Linked DNA regions of Homo sapiens: all the other regions are linked to region 1. The links are contacts of gene promoters, found by promoter capture Hi-C in blood cells and fetal thymus (Javierre and others, 2016). All regions are on one chromosome and are shown on one strand. The core of a region is centred on a gene start or on the middle of the fragment in contact, and the rest is flanking DNA. Distances in the headings are between cores, read along the strand shown.

The links. Contacts are between HindIII fragments. The CHiCAGO score rates a contact against its expected background, and 5 or more counts as called.
Region 2: a contact is called between a fragment that was not itself captured here and the fragment with the promoter of SEC61G in region 1, in 3 of 17 cell types (total CD4 T cells, total CD8 T cells and naive CD8 T cells). The highest score is 23.4, in total CD4 T cells.
Region 3: a contact is called between the fragment with the promoter of ZNF680 here and the fragment with the promoter of SEC61G in region 1, in 1 of 17 cell types (activated CD4 T cells). The highest score is 5.8, in activated CD4 T cells.
Region 4: a fragment that was not itself captured here is called in contact with the fragment with the promoter of SEC61G in region 1 in 4 of 17 cell types (naive CD8 T cells, activated CD4 T cells, non-activated CD4 T cells and 1 more); the score reaches 15.9 in naive CD8 T cells.
Region 5: a contact is called between a fragment that was not itself captured here and the fragment with the promoter of SEC61G in region 1, in 7 of 17 cell types (naive CD4 T cells, total CD4 T cells, naive CD8 T cells and 4 more). The highest score is 10.6, in naive CD4 T cells.

Annotation. Positions count from the first base shown.
Region 1 is chr7:54,757,817-54,760,716 of GRCh38, forward strand. It overlaps SEC61G (SEC61 translocon subunit gamma), which reads right to left and starts at 1,395. Exons shown (of 4, transcript NM_014302.4): 1 at 1,342-1,395. SEC61G-DT (SEC61G divergent transcript) reads left to right here and starts at 1,497. Exons shown (of 3, transcript NR_110040.1): 1 at 1,497-1,708. RefSeq lists a silencer at 1,045-1,364 and an enhancer at 1,598-2,533. The HindIII fragment of the contact is 2,422 bases long and covers 1-1,805 here.
Region 2 is chr7:64,671,014-64,673,913 of GRCh38, forward strand. All of the region lies in intron 1 of ZNF107 (zinc finger protein 107), which reads left to right. Among named protein-coding and RNA genes, the nearest start is that of ZNF107, 6.3 kb to the left of the region's middle. The HindIII fragment of the contact is 4,936 bases long and covers 1-2,900 here.
Region 3 is chr7:64,561,593-64,564,492 of GRCh38, forward strand. ZNF680 (zinc finger protein 680) reads right to left here and starts at 1,479. Exons shown (of 4, transcript NM_178558.5): 1 at 1,333-1,479. The coding sequence starts at 1,362. RefSeq lists an enhancer at 1,068-1,427 and a silencer at 1,528-1,637. The HindIII fragment of the contact is 20,565 bases long and covers 1-2,900 here.
Region 4 is chr7:64,308,910-64,311,809 of GRCh38, forward strand. LOC105375322 (a long non-coding RNA gene) reads right to left here and starts at 1,567. Exons shown (of 5, transcript XR_927582.2): 1 at 1-1,567. The HindIII fragment of the contact is 9,634 bases long and covers 1-2,900 here.
Region 5 is chr7:47,991,632-47,994,531 of GRCh38, forward strand. It overlaps SUN3 (Sad1 and UNC84 domain containing 3), which reads right to left. Exons shown (of 10, transcript NM_001030019.2): 8 at 2,684-2,851. Among named protein-coding and RNA genes, the nearest start is that of HUS1, 13 kb to the left of the region's middle. RefSeq lists an enhancer at 314-543. The HindIII fragment of the contact is 1,837 bases long and covers 551-2,387 here.

The DNA of each region.
Region 1 (2,900 bases), core at 145-2,644:
ACTCATGATATCTTCACTGACAAAGAACAGCACACGCAATATAAAAAGCCTATCTCTATTAAAAGGTTAAAAAAGGTTACGCAATTGGTAACACATCCATTCCTTTTCTCACTCTGCAGTCCCATCCATTTCTCATTCTACAGTCCCCTCACCGCTCCTAAGGAACCATCAGTGTTGAGATCCAACAATTACTTTCCATATTTTATTTTAAACTACGCAGAAGCCAGTGTCTTGTACAGTGAATGCCAACTACGGTGCTGCAAGAGCCTAGAATAGAGGCAAACGTGAATTTCAACCTTGATTTTTCTAAAACGTGCCAATACAACATACTTTTCTAAAGTATAAAGAATGGCTAAAGGAAGACGCAAATTCTGAGAAGCTACTAGCTAAATTTCAAACTTTTCGATTTGAACACATCTTTTAAGGAAACAGGGCTATATATTTTACCATACAGGTTCTTTTGAGGAATCTATTACCCAATAGAAATGTTATCCGATCTTAGCTTTGAGAGCCACTGCTATAGTAAGTAAAGCAGCCAGGGTGTTATTTGTATTTTCCTCCATTTCCAGTACTCAGAACAGTGGCCAGGTGGTAGTTCAAATCACTGGCTATGGAATGTAAACCTCTGTAAGCCCCAGTTGCCTTCCTTAGTGTAGGGTGTGGACAACGAAATGAAATAATGTCAATGAAACACCAGGAATTCTGCAACGTTCTGGGGGCAAAAACACAGTAATGTCTGTTTTCTCAGTATTTCACTCAACTTTGCTCTTGAAATCCAAAGGGCTTAAACTTTTTGTAATCATAGTTGTCACGAAGGAAGCTAAGAATTCTTTATCCAGAAAAACGCACGCTACACACAATACCGCACTCAATGTCAGGGGTAGAGATCCAAAAACCAACTATGATCTCTCGAACTAGACTCTAGACCAATGCTCTCACTTTAAACCACGGAAGCGGCGGCAGGACCAGAGCTGAGTACAGCTCTTCCCAGACAGGACTCCACAACAGCACACAGAGCCAACCCCGAAGGGATCGGGCAGCAGGACATCATCTTTGGCTGCAGCACAGAAGACGCCGGGGCAGGACGCTAAGCCCTGGAGCCCCGCGGGCCGGCCACCCAGCTCGCCGGGAGTCCGCGGCCCTGGGTCTGCCTTCCGCCAGAGGCCGAGTTGGTGGGATGTCGGCGGCCAGACCCCGGCCCTGAGCCAGGGGACCACTTACCGCCCGCCCCGCGACGGCCGCCCGGGGAGACACGCCGGCTCGCCCACGCCCGCTGCCCCCAAGAGTCGCAAAGGTGTGGCCGCCCCGTTCGCCCGTACCGACCGGTGGGAAGAAACTCACCTACCCAACCGACACCTAAAATGCCAGGGACACGTAGCACTGGAGCTTGCTGATGGAGGCCCACCGGAACCGGAATCCGGGTTTCTGCCAACAGCCCGCCCACTCCTCCGTCCTATTGGTTCCTTACGCGAAACCTCAGTGCGCAAGCGCAGCGCGACGTGCGCCCGGCCACGCTTCCTGGAAGAGATGCATTGCGGAGCTCGCTAGTTGGGGCGTTGGCCTTCCTTAGGAGTGTGAGTCTAGCGTTATCCCTTTTTTCCGGCTGGATCCCGGGTTACCCCACCAGCCCGACCTCAACCCACTCACGTCCACAGCACGAGCCCCAGCGGCCTTGCGCGGTGCTTGCTCTCTAGTAGCGGCTGACTAGGTAAATCCTAAGTTGTGGTTTTTTTTCCTGCGGTCCAGCTTGATGTGTGTCCTTACGGTACATACTTTTTGTATGTATATAATGTTGGTCGAAATGAAGCTTATGAGCAATATAATGTTATGGCCTAATTCAAAATAGTATCCCCACCCCAAACTTTGACTTTGGCTGTCATTCACGGTAATGAATGCCGCTGTAATTGAGGCCTTTGTCAAACGCTAGGTTTGGTTACGGGAGTGGTCATAATGTACACACAGCTCCCCACTTACCCACAAGGATGCATTCCAGGAACCCCCCGCCGGATGGCTGAAACCGTCAGTAGAGACGGGGTTTCACCATATTGGCCAGGCTGGTCTTGAACTCCTGACCTCGCGATCCACCCGCCTCGGCCTCCCAAAGTGCTGGGATTACAGACGTGAGCCACCGCGCCCGGCCATGTTTCCTTTTAGCAATGGAGCATAACGGGATCTGAGGAACAATATAACTCAGGAAGAGCTGATGGAACATTAAGACGTGTTACAACTCTCAGTGCTTCTTAAACTTCTTCAGTAACTGAAATCTCCTGTTAAGTTTTTTAGTAAATGAAATTTGTAACCCCAGAACCTCCAGATATTGATTCAGTGGGTCAGGGTTAGAGGTCACACACCTCCGTATATCTGACTGTAGGTGGTCCATACACACTACACATACCTTGCCTTAGCTTTAAGAGTCACTTTTAAATTCTGAACAGACTGAGATGCGTTTGACTAGTTCTTCATCCCTGGGACTTCAGCCCATGTGTCATCTCCTTAGAGGCCTATAGTGACCATCTAAGGCAATCCTGTCTATCTCATGCTCTTTTTTCCTTTTTCACAATACCTTCTTCATTTGCTGCATAGCATTTGTATTAACATTTATTTATTTATTCCTCGGTCTGTCTCCCTACACTGTAAATCCCCTTACTAGACCATAAGCTCCAAGTGGGTATAATATAGCATCTAGTAAAGTGCTAAACACAGTAAATGCTCAATAAATAATTTTCAAAAAAATAATTCATTCCAAAAAAACATAAAATCACATGTTGGCAAGTTCACCCCAACCACCAAATGTCTGAGTTGACAGTATTTTCAGCAAAACACAGAAAATCAAGTAACACATACAGTGGTTCCCCTTATCCAAGAAAATCTGGTTCAAAAAGAGATGTGTACCAGAAGGT
Region 2 (2,900 bases), core at 104-2,603, 9.9 Mb after region 1:
GTTAAACAATGTGTTAGTTTTGGAGAATTGCTTGGTGTTAAGCAAACTTTACAGATTTGGTGCCAAAAGAAAGATATCACAGAGGCCTGGCCTGGAGTGGAACTCTGGGTGTCTGGGAATGCGACGCTCTACCCTCCTGTACACAGACTGTCACACTGCCCATTGTCCTGTGATTCCAGGTCTCCTTCCATGGTGAGAGAGGACTGAAAACTTAGAGGAAAGGAGGTCTGATTATAGACCCCCTTTTCTCGCAGCTGCCATCCCAGAATTTCCACCCACTCACAAACATACCCATTATACATTGATGTGTCCACACCCCTCCCAGGACTAGGCACCGCCCTTAGGAATTTCACTACAGCATTTTTTTATTCTAGTGTTTTTTGCCAAAAACCCACCAAAGTGTCTACAAGTCTCCTGACATATTCCTATTCCCAGACACTGAATCTGCAGCAGCAGCCTGCTCTCTCCACCAACCAAGGATTCTGGACCACCTGTTCATAATCTCATCTGCCTGCATGGACGCAAATAAATCAGAGGACAGCCCCATCTGGGCCACTATCTGTAGCACAGACCATTCCTCCCACCTACATGGCATTCTCCCCCACCCATGGATTTTTTTCCTTTTAACTTTTATTTCTGTTTTGGAGTACACATGCAGTTTGTTATATAGGTAAAATTGTGTCAGGGTGGTTTCGTGTGCAGATTATTTTATCGCTGAGATACTAAGCATAGCACCAAACAAGTATTTTTTTGATCCTTTTTGTTCTTTTTTTTTTTTTTTTTTTTGAGGCAGAGTCTCGCTCTGTTGCCCAGGCTGGAGTGCAGCGGCGCGATCTCTGCTCACTGCAAGCTCTGCCTCCCGGGTTCAGGCCATTCTCCTGCCTCAGCCTCCCGAGTAGCTGGGACTACAGGTGCCCGCCACCAAGCCCAGCTAAATTTTTTTTTGTATTTTTTAGTAGAGATGGGGTTTCACCGTGTTAACCAGGATGGTCTCGATCTCCTGACCTTGTGATCCACCCGCCTCGGCCTCCCAAAGTGCTGGGATTACAGGAGTGAGCCACCGCGCCCGGCTGGCGACCCTTTTTGTTCTTTCACCTTCCACCCTCAGCTAGGCCTCTGTTGTTCCCCTCTTTGTGTCCATGTGTTCTTATTATTTAGCTCTTATACATGAGAAAATATATTTGGTTTTCTATTCTGCATTAGTTTTCTATGGCTAATGGTCTCCAGCTTTATCCATGTTGCTGCAAAGGACGTGCTCTTGTTCTTTTTTATGGCCACATGGTATTCCATGATGTTTATGTATCATATTTTGTTTGTATTAAATATTTTGTTTTATTTTATTTTTATTATAATTATTTTTGGAGACAGGGTCTCATCTTGTCACACAGGCTGAAGTGCAGTGGTGTGATCTTGGCTCACTGCAGCCTCAACCTCCCTGGCTCAAGCAATCCTCCTACCTAAGCCCTCCAAGTAGCTGGAACTACAGATGTGTATCATTATGCCCGGCTAATTTTTCTTTTTGTATTTTTTGTAAAGACGTGGTTCTTCCACATTGCTCAGTCTGGTTTTGAACTTTTGAGTTCCGCAAATCTGCATGCCTCAGCTTACGAAAGTGCTGTGGTTACAGGTGTGAGCCACCGTGCCCTACCATACCATATTTTCTTTATCCAGTCTACCGTCGATAGGTATTTGGTTGATTCCGTATCTTTGCTATGTGAATAGTGCTGCAGTGAACATGCATGTGCATGTGTCTCTGTGATAGAATAATTTATATTTCTTTGGGTATAAACCCAATTATGAGGTGTCTGGGTCAAATGGTAATTCTGTTTCTAGTTCTGTGAGGAATCACCACACTGCTTTTCACAATGGTTGAACTAATTTACATTCCCACAGGCAGTGTACAAGCATTCCCTTTTCCCTTCAACCTTGCCAGCATCTGTTATTAACAACAGCCATTCTGACTGGTATGAGATGGTATCTCATTGTAGTTTTTCTCTGCATTTTTCTAATGATTAGTGATGAGCATTTATTTATTTATTTATTTATTTGAGATGGAGTCACACTCTGTTGCCCAGGCTGGAGTGCAGTGGCACGATCTTGGCTCACTGCAACCTCTCCCGCCTGAGTTCAAGCGATTCTTCTGCCTCAGCCTCCCGAGTAGCTGGGATTACAGGTGCCTGCCACCGTGCCTGGCTAATTTTTGTATTTTTAGTAGAGATGGGGTTTCACCATCTTGGTCAGGCTGGTCTCAAACTCCTGACCTCGTGATCCACCCGCCTTGGCCTCCCAAAGTGCTGGGATTATAGGCATGAGCCACCGCACCTGACAGAGCATTTTTAAAATTTACTTTTTAGCCACATGTATGTCTTCTTTTGAAAAGCATCTGTTCATGTTTTTTGCCTACTTTTTAATAAGGTTGTTTGTGTTTTTCTTACAAATTTGTTTGTTTCTTATGGATGCTGGATATTAGACCTTTGTGAGAAGCATAGTTTGCAAATATTTTATTTTATTCTGTAGTTTGTCTGTTGATAGTTTCCATTGCTGTGAAATAGCTAGTTTAATTACATCCTATTTGTCAGTTTTAGCTTTTGTTGCATTTGCTTTTGGCATCTTCGTCATGAAATCTCTGTCAGTTTCTATGTTAGAATGGTATTTCCTAGGTTAGTCTTCCAGGGTATTTTATAATTTTAAGTTTTACATTTAAATCTGTAACTCATGTTGAGTGATTTTTATATATGGTGTAGGAAAGGTATCCACTTTCAATGTTCTACATAGTGTTAGCTAGTTATTCTAGCATCATTTATTAAATACGGAATTCTTCCCGCATTCCTCATGTCAGCTTTGTGAGAAGACCAAATGGCTGTAGGTGTGTGGCATTATTTCTGGGCTCTATTGTGTTG
Region 3 (2,900 bases), core at 229-2,728, 9.8 Mb after region 1:
CCATCCAATGATTTCTCAAAAAATGATTAATTAAAATATAGTATCAAAAATGTACACTAGGGCCGGGCGCGGTGGCTGACGCCTGTAATCCCAGCACTTTGGGAGGCCGAGGCGGGTGGATTACGAGGTCAGGAGATCAAGACCATCCTGGCTAACTTGGTGAAACCCTGTCCCTACTAAAAATACAAAAAAATTAGCCAGGCGTGGTGGCGGGCGCCTGTAGTCCCAGCTACTCAGGAGGCTGAGGCAGGAGAATGGCGTCAACCCAGGAGGCGGAGCTTGCAGTGAGCCGAGATCGCGCCACTGCACTCCAGCCTGGGCGACAGAGCAAGACTCCGTCTCAAAAAAAAAAAAAATTTACATTAGGCACAGTGGCTCACGCCTGTAATCCCAGCACTTTGAGAGGCCGAGGCGGGCAGATCACAAGGTCAGGAGTTCAAGACCAGCCTGTCCAACATGGTGAAACCCGTCTCTACTAAAAATACAAAAATTAGCCGGGCATGGTGGCGGGCGCCTGTAATCCCAGCTACTCGGGAGGCTGAGACAGGAGAATCACTTGAACCCGGGAGGCAGAGGTTGTAGTGAGCCGAGATCGTGCCACTGCACTTCAGCCTGGGCGACAGAGCGAGACTCCGTTTCAAAAAAAAAAAAAAAAAAATCTAACTCAAATACATTGTTTTTTGTAAAGTATTACATTGGGGGAAATAAAATTCTTGCTTAACCAACTATAAACTGCCAAGTACCCTCCGATTACATAACCAGAAAATTTCCACTTTGATCTTACAAATTAAGAAGTTATGTAACTGTACCTAACCGATTATTGAATTTGGTTTTATTCATCATACACCACTTAAAAGTCTTTCCTTCAAGCCCCTCCCATGGACCACAAATTACAAATCATAGCTGGGTGCTCTACGATTTTTGAACCACTCTTCTATTACATTTTTAAATATATTTGCAGTGACTTCCATGAATTTTTAATAGAAAAAAGGAGGGACTGGGACCCCATGGACCAAAGCGCTTCCCATTTATGAACCCTGCACCCCGAGTTATCGGCAGAGATGCGGCACTGCGGGTGCAGAGCTGCCCAGCGAGGGCTCCAGGCCAAGGCACAGTCACTGCGCAGGGAGGAGACATGACGCCCGGGGTCCGGCTGTCAGCCCAGCCGCCATCTTATGGCTGAAGGGGACTGAGGACCGAGCTGCGCCAAGGACAACTCGGGCCGCGGATTTTGGAGCCCAGTGCTTGGAGCCTGGAGTCCTGCCACAGCCACTTCCGACCGGTTCCAACCAGCCCCTCCCCCTCTCTCGGGGTGTCGGACCGCACTCTCACCATTTCTAGGCTTCCAGGTGGTCCTGGCATCTTAGCTGTGCATCTCCCAATACCTGCAGATAACGGAGTCACAGAGGCTGGGCCTCTAGGAGCAGAATACACAGAGCAGTAAAGACTAGACCTGGAGCTCCCGCAGCAGCTAGAGACAAAGGCCCCGCCAAATCCCGGAAGCCGTCCTGTCCGCTCCAGCTGCGTGCCTGATTGGACGGGTCCCAGCCCCGCGTCCCTGATTGGATAATGTTTAGGGCGCCACCCCCTAATGCCCTGAGTGACAGAATATGTGCTCAGCGGCTGGGCTGAACGTAGAAAGAGTGAAATCCAAGCTGCAGGGTTCTCAGGGAAGGGCTTCCTCCCTGAACGGACCAGGCTCACACCAGAGAGTATTTGCATATAACCCTGCGTATAAGGTCGTATGCCTTTATAAATAATATATTATGTGGCTATTCACACATGAAAATAATGCAATAACAATTATTTAAAATTTTCCAATTTTATGAGCTCCTGGCTTCTTGTCCTTTGAGCGGGTAGCCTGACATTTTTTTTTAAAAAGGCAGTCCTCTGAAATTGAATGTGAGCCACGTGAATTCTAAATTTTCTAGAAGGAAAATTTTAAAAAGAAAAAAAAACAGGAGGAATTCATTGTAGAAATTTAATTAACCCAATATATCCAAAATATTATCATTTTAATATGTGACCAGTATGTAATTATTAACAAAGTATATATATTTTGGAAAAAAAATTAAAACTATGTATTTTACCTTTCTACCACATCGCAGTTCAGACCAGCCACATTCCATGCACCCAGTAGCCACAGGTGGCCAATAGCTGCCACATTGAAGTGCAGCTCTGATGGCAGAAGATGAAATCCTGAACATCCCTTTTCTTTTTTCTTTTCTTTTCTTCCTTTCTTTTTATTTCCTTTCTCTTCTCTTCTTTTCTTTCTTTTCCTTTCTCTTCTCTTCTTTTCTTTTCAAACAGAGTCTTGCTCTTATGTCCAGGCTGGAGTGCAGTGGTGCAATCTCGGCTCACTGCAATCTCCACATTCCGGATTCAAGCAATTCTCCTGCCTTATTTTCCCCAGAGTAGCTGTGATTACAGGCATGTGCCACCATGCCTGGCTTATTTTTGTATTTTTAGTAGAAATGGAATTTTGCCATGTCAGCCAGGCTGGACTCAAACCCCTGACCTTAAGTAATCCTTCTGTCTCATCCTCCCAAAGTGCTGGGATTACAGCCATGAGCCACCACACTGGGCTTGAACATCCTTTTCCTGCCATAAATAAGGGGAAAGTCTTTCCCTACCAACATCTCTCTTCAGTTCCAAGGGTAGAACAGATAGTGGCCATAGAAAGAGCAGAGGACAGCAGGAATAAAATAACAACAGGAAGACCACCTGTTGCCCACCTTTCTTCCAGAGATCAGACAGTGAACAAAGGACGATGGGGCCACAGAAGAAGAATGCTCTATGTCTACAGATCCCTCCCTGGTCTTTCTTTTTCTTTTTTTCTTTTTTGAGACAGAGTTTTGCTCTTGTCACCCAGGCTGGAGTGCAATGGCGTGATCTCAACT
Region 4 (2,900 bases), core at 157-2,656, 9.6 Mb after region 1:
TTGCAAGTTTTCAGCTATTGTTACTTTTGCACCCCATTTAATTTTTCTGTCCCTTCACTCTTTCTAGGACACAATCTGCCCACAGATTGTAAGACTCTGTTCATTTTCTTCAAACTTTTTTTACTCTTTTTTTCAGATTGAATAATTTCAATTGTTCTGTCTTTTTCTAATCTATGAATCAACCTAAAAGTACTATTTAAAATTTCATTATCTTTCTATTTGGTTCTTTTTAATAATGTGCATTTCTCTGCTGAGATTCCACATGTATTCATTCATTATGAGAATTTTTTTTCTTCACCCCATGACTATAGTTTTAATAGCTGCTCTCAAATACTTGACTGCTGATAACAACATCTTGGACATTTTGGGGATAGCTTTTAATGCCTATGTTTTATCTTGTGTATGGATAACATTTTTGTGTTTCTTCTCATGTCTCTTAAATTTTAAAATTGTATTTTAAAAACTGTAAATAATACTTATAGAGACTCTGGATCCTGTTGTATTCCTTTGAAGAGTGTTGTTAGTTTTTGAAGAGGGAGTTAATTTGGCTGGATTCAAATTCAAATGCCTGTCTCCCTTTCCGTGGGCACAGCTAAAATTATCATTCGCTTCTTATCCCCACATATATCATATGTATGATATATAGATGTGTGTTTCTATATAATATATGACATTGTATCCAGATTTTACCATTATTTGTAAGAGTAGTGTTCAACAAGCTACTCCACTATTACTGAAAGCCAAAACCTCAATTTTATATTCTTTTTGGATTTTACATAAATGACATTATATAGTATGTATACTTTTACATATACTTTCTTTTGTACATCATATTTGTAATATTCATCAATCCTGCTGTAGATATGTAAGTACTGAGATTACAGGCATGAGCCAACGTGCTCAGCCTAAAATATTTTAGGAGGTTAAGGTGGGAGGATCACTTGTGGCTGGGAATTTTAGACCAGCCTGGGCAATAGAGTGAGACCCTCTCTCTACAAAAAAATTAAAAATTAGCCAGGCACGGTGGCATGTGTCTGCTATTCCAGCTACTCAGAAGACTGAGGCAGAAAGATCAGTTGAGCCCATAAGTTCAAGGCTACAGGAAGCAATGATTGCACTCCTGCACTCCCATCTGGGTAACAGAGCAAGACTCTGTCTCTTAAAAAATAATATAAAAATTTAAAATAATTTTATACATTATGTTAAAATACACATAAAATTAACTATTTTAACCATTTTAAAGGTTTCCATTGAGATGAATTAAGTACACTCATTATTTTGCTACCATCATTTCCATATATAAAAAGCATATTCCATTTTTTGAAACTGAAACTGTACCCATTAAACAACTCCTTATTCTCCCTGTAGCCCCTGGGAAACACTCTCCTACTTGGTGTTTTCTATGACTTTAACTACTCTTAAGTACCACATATGAGAAGAATCATATAGTAAAGAAATCATGAGGAAGAATGATAAAAAATGTATCACATGCTTATTAATTTTCAATAAAAACACCAACAGAGATCAGTAGTACCTGTTGATTATAAATAAACAGATAAATGAGAAAAAGGAATTGGCAGTGTGCATTGTATTTATGACAATGGGGCCTCAAGTACCATAGCAGTGAGTCCTCTGCCCCAGGCACAGGGCTGGTCAGTGGTGGAGCTGGAAGCCCAGTGTAGCTGTCTGACACCCGGATCCCATGCCTAACCCAAATGTCACTGAGCCCTAAGGCACTTCGCTCCTGCTGGTCCAGGCAGTGTCCCCTAAGATTCATCATGGCATGTTCTCCATGGCCTTAAGGAGTTGCTGGCCTACTGGGATAAGCGATCCAGCTGGCAGGACAGGTTGTAGCTACAAGTCATAGAGGCAGATGTGAGGTCTCTATGTAGGAGTCACACCCCTAGTCTCCTTCCCAGTGCCTGCCCAGCTGGAGTGCTGGGCCCCCGGGGTCACCATGCAGCAGGGCCTGACACTGACCAGGGAGCCATGGCCACAGGCTCTTGGCAGCTGGCCCAAAATAAATATTCTCCATAACCTCTGCCGATCTGCTGGACCCTCACCTCTCAGTCTCACTGAGCCACTCCGTTAACTGGAGGCAGACCCAAAATTGCTCCACAGGCTGAAGGTGATAATTGTCTACAGCCAGCTGAAGCAGCTGCATCTCCTGGAGAACTTTGATCTCCTGCAGCTAAAGGGGGGGACAAGTGGAAGATGCGGATAGGAGGGTCCAGGAGACAGGGGATTATGAGATTTCAGGGGACAGGCCTCGAAGGGACACCCAAAAGTGAGTAGTCATCCCCATCACCACCCGACAGCACAGGGTGTTGCCTCCATCCTGGACACATTTTCCAGTTATCTGGTGATGGGAAACCCTGCCAGAAAGGATTATATGGATGGGAGTGAGCCTGGGATGGGCAGGGCTGGAACCAGAATCCTGAGGCTTGGGAGAAGAGAATCAGGACTACACCCTTAGATCTCAGCACTTGGCAAACTTCCTCTCATGAGAGCGTCACGGCTGCCTCTGTGAGCTGAGGTATCAGGCCCCTCTTCCCTATGAATGTTGAAGATTCCACACCAGCCACCAGTCCCTGTTCCCTGAGTGATGAAGCTGCAGAGCTGTCTGCTTGCAAAGCCCAGTGAGGTTTTGCCTGAGCTGGACTCAGACTCTCCCTCAGATGGTGCCAATGGAAGGATAGTAAACTTAGGCCTCTCCAAGGGCAGGCAGCTCGTATGTGGCTGAGCACTTTTGTTTTTTGTTTTTTGGTTTTTTTTGAGATGGAGCCTCCTCTGTCACCCAGGCTGGAGTGCAGTGGCATGATCTTGGCTCACTGCAAACTCCGCCTCCCAGGTTCAAGCAATTCTCTGCCTCAGCCTCCTTAGTAGCTGGGATTACAGGT
Region 5 (2,900 bases), core at 219-2,718, 6.8 Mb before region 1:
ACAAACAAACAGAAAAACCAAAAAGTGAAGATGGCCAAATGGCGCCTGGAGAGAAAGAACACAAACTACTCGGGCTGTACGTGGACCCAGCAGCGCAGGACTTAAGCGGCAGGTTCCCAGGAAGGCCGGAGGAGGGTGTCCATGTGGGGAGCGTGTGGGTGAAAGCGTGAGGGGGAGTGTGGGGGAAAGGAGCCCAAATCTGCGGCTTAGCTAACAGTCATTTCAAAAAGCAGTTACAACGCCTCCACGCCCCTCCAGCCCCGCCTGGCCCAGCAGAGGGCTCTCTTCTTCCTCCCATCTCTAAGACCACTGCCGGCGCCGCCCCAGAACCGCCCACAAGAGCATGGCCTCTGCACAAAGTGGTGACCCCGCGGCCCTCCTCTCCCCAGCAGCTCATGGTGTGGTGGGCCAGGCTGGCACCTCCTGTGCACTGCAGGAGTCCTCTCAGGGTCAGCTCTCCTGATAGCACACTTGTGACTCCCGACGAAATGGCCCGACCAGATGATTCCCGCTGCAAACTCACGACGGATGAGCCCCACCGTGCGCGCAAAGCTTCCTGCCGGCTTTGCACCGCCTAGCAATTCATGTGACAAGCATCACAGACATGGGAGAAAAGTGTTGTACAGGAAACAGAGAGACGCTACCCGCAAGGGGGAAAAGTGGGGCTAGGAAATCCAGACCCGGAAGCGAGCAGAAGAAAATGAGACAAGCCTACAGTTAATATATTCAGAAGCATAAGAGAAGGTACTGCCTTCATAAAAGAAAAAAATATAGGCTCTAAAAAAGGGAATATGTATAGAAACAAGAAGTCTCAGAAAGTATAATCATGACAGCAGGAATGAAAATTTCCGTAGAGGGGTTAAAATGTGAATTGATATGATCTTCCAGAAGGTGGAACAAAAAGCAGAAAAGGGAAAGAAGAAACACTTTTTAAAAATAATAAATTAGACAGTAAGTTGAATCCTCAGGATGCATGAGTGAAATCCCACGACAACAGTTGTGCATCAGGCCTACCTAACAAGGCTGGAGCAAAATGCTGAGGGCGCCAGAGGGATATCTTGGGAAAAAAAAAAGAAAATAAATGAAAAGAAAGTGAAGGAAGGAATAAAGAAAGGAAGAAATTTATAAGTTATCTGATGTGAATCAACATAATGGGGGAATATTTGTACTTCTGAAGAAGAATTTGGGAAAGTTTTAGTAATAGGAATGCAGAAAACTAAGCAAATTAAAGAAAAATAGGCTGGGCACCAGTGGCTCACGTCTGTAATCCCAGCACTGTGGGAGGCCAAGGCGGGAGGATCCTGAGCCCTGGAGTTTGAGACCAGCCTGGGCAACATAATAAGACCCTTATCTCTACTAAAAAATTTAAAAAACAATCCCACGAGTTTGAAGTTGCAGTGAGCTGTGATTGTTCTCCAACCTGGGCAACAGAGCTGAGACCCTGTCTCAAGAAAAAAAAAATGTAAAGCAATTATTACACTCAGAAACATTTAAAAAAATGGAAGAAAGTAGTATTTAAGTACACTAAATAGCTCAACTGAGAGCTGTTTTGTTCACATAGTCACTGTGAAAACATTGAGTATTGCTTGAACAAAAAGATAATACAGTCTTCTAGCAGTGCCTCAAATGTTAAACCTACATTTACCATGCTATCTAGGAATTCCAGTCTTAGGTATACACCCAAGGAAAACAAAAACTCATGTCCACACAAAAACTTGTACATGAATGTTTGTTGAAGCATTATACATAATGACCAAAAAAATGAAAATAATTCAAATGTCCATCAACTGATGAATAGATAAATAAAATGTCATATATCCATACAATGAAATGTTATTCAGCAATAAAAAATAAATGAAATATTGAGACATACTACATCATAAATGAACCTTGAAAACAGTATGCAAAGTTAAAGAAGCCATTCACAAAAGATCACACATTATAAATGATTCAATTTATATGAAATGTATAGAATAGGTAAATTTATTGAGACAAAGTAGACCAGTGGTTGCCAGGGGCTGGAGGAGTACACTAGGGGAATAGGAGGTGACGGCTAAGGGGTATGGGGTTTCTTTTTAGGGTAAGAAAAATGTTCTAAAATTGATTATGGTGATGGATACACAACTCTGTGAATACACTAAAAGCCACTGAAGGGTGTACTTTAAATGGGTGAATTAATTGTTATGGGAATTACATCTCCAGAAACCTGTTTTGTTTTTTAAATTAAGACATAAATATTTTGGGAAGATGGAAGTGCCATGGAAAAGAGTTAATCTTCATTTTCAATGAGAGGATGTCATAATCAAAACTGAAAAATCAGGAAATAATGGCAAAAGCCAACATGGAGGCAAGTACCCAAATAAACATCTAAAATTGTTGCAAGTAGAAGCTTTGGGATAATGAGAATTGGAGATGTGGAGAAGTGGGACAAGGAATTACTGTTTCTTTACAAACTTTATGGAAATATTTGATTTTTACTTATACATGTATAACTTTGATAAAAGTAAAAATAATAATATAAATCATTTGGTCCAACTCTCTCTCTTTGTAGGTGAGAAAGCAGAAGTCCAGGAAATAAGTGACACAACTAGTTATCTGTCCTAGTTCAGAGGACAGCCCCTAATTCCTAGCCAACCACCTTCTATCAGGCCAATCTGAATGACAAATTTAGATAGCTTCTTACATAGACAGAAAATTCCTTGGGTGCACTGGAGATGTTTCCTGACGGAGACACCTTCTCTGAGATGTGCTCCATGGTAACAGCAGTTGGTATGATCTTTGTAGCAAGCTTGATTAGGGTATGACCCTGGGAACCTGGAAAAGCCCAGCACTTTCCAGGGTAGACATCCGGCTGGAAAGAAAACACTGAATTAATCTCTTAACTAGTTATGTGAATCCAT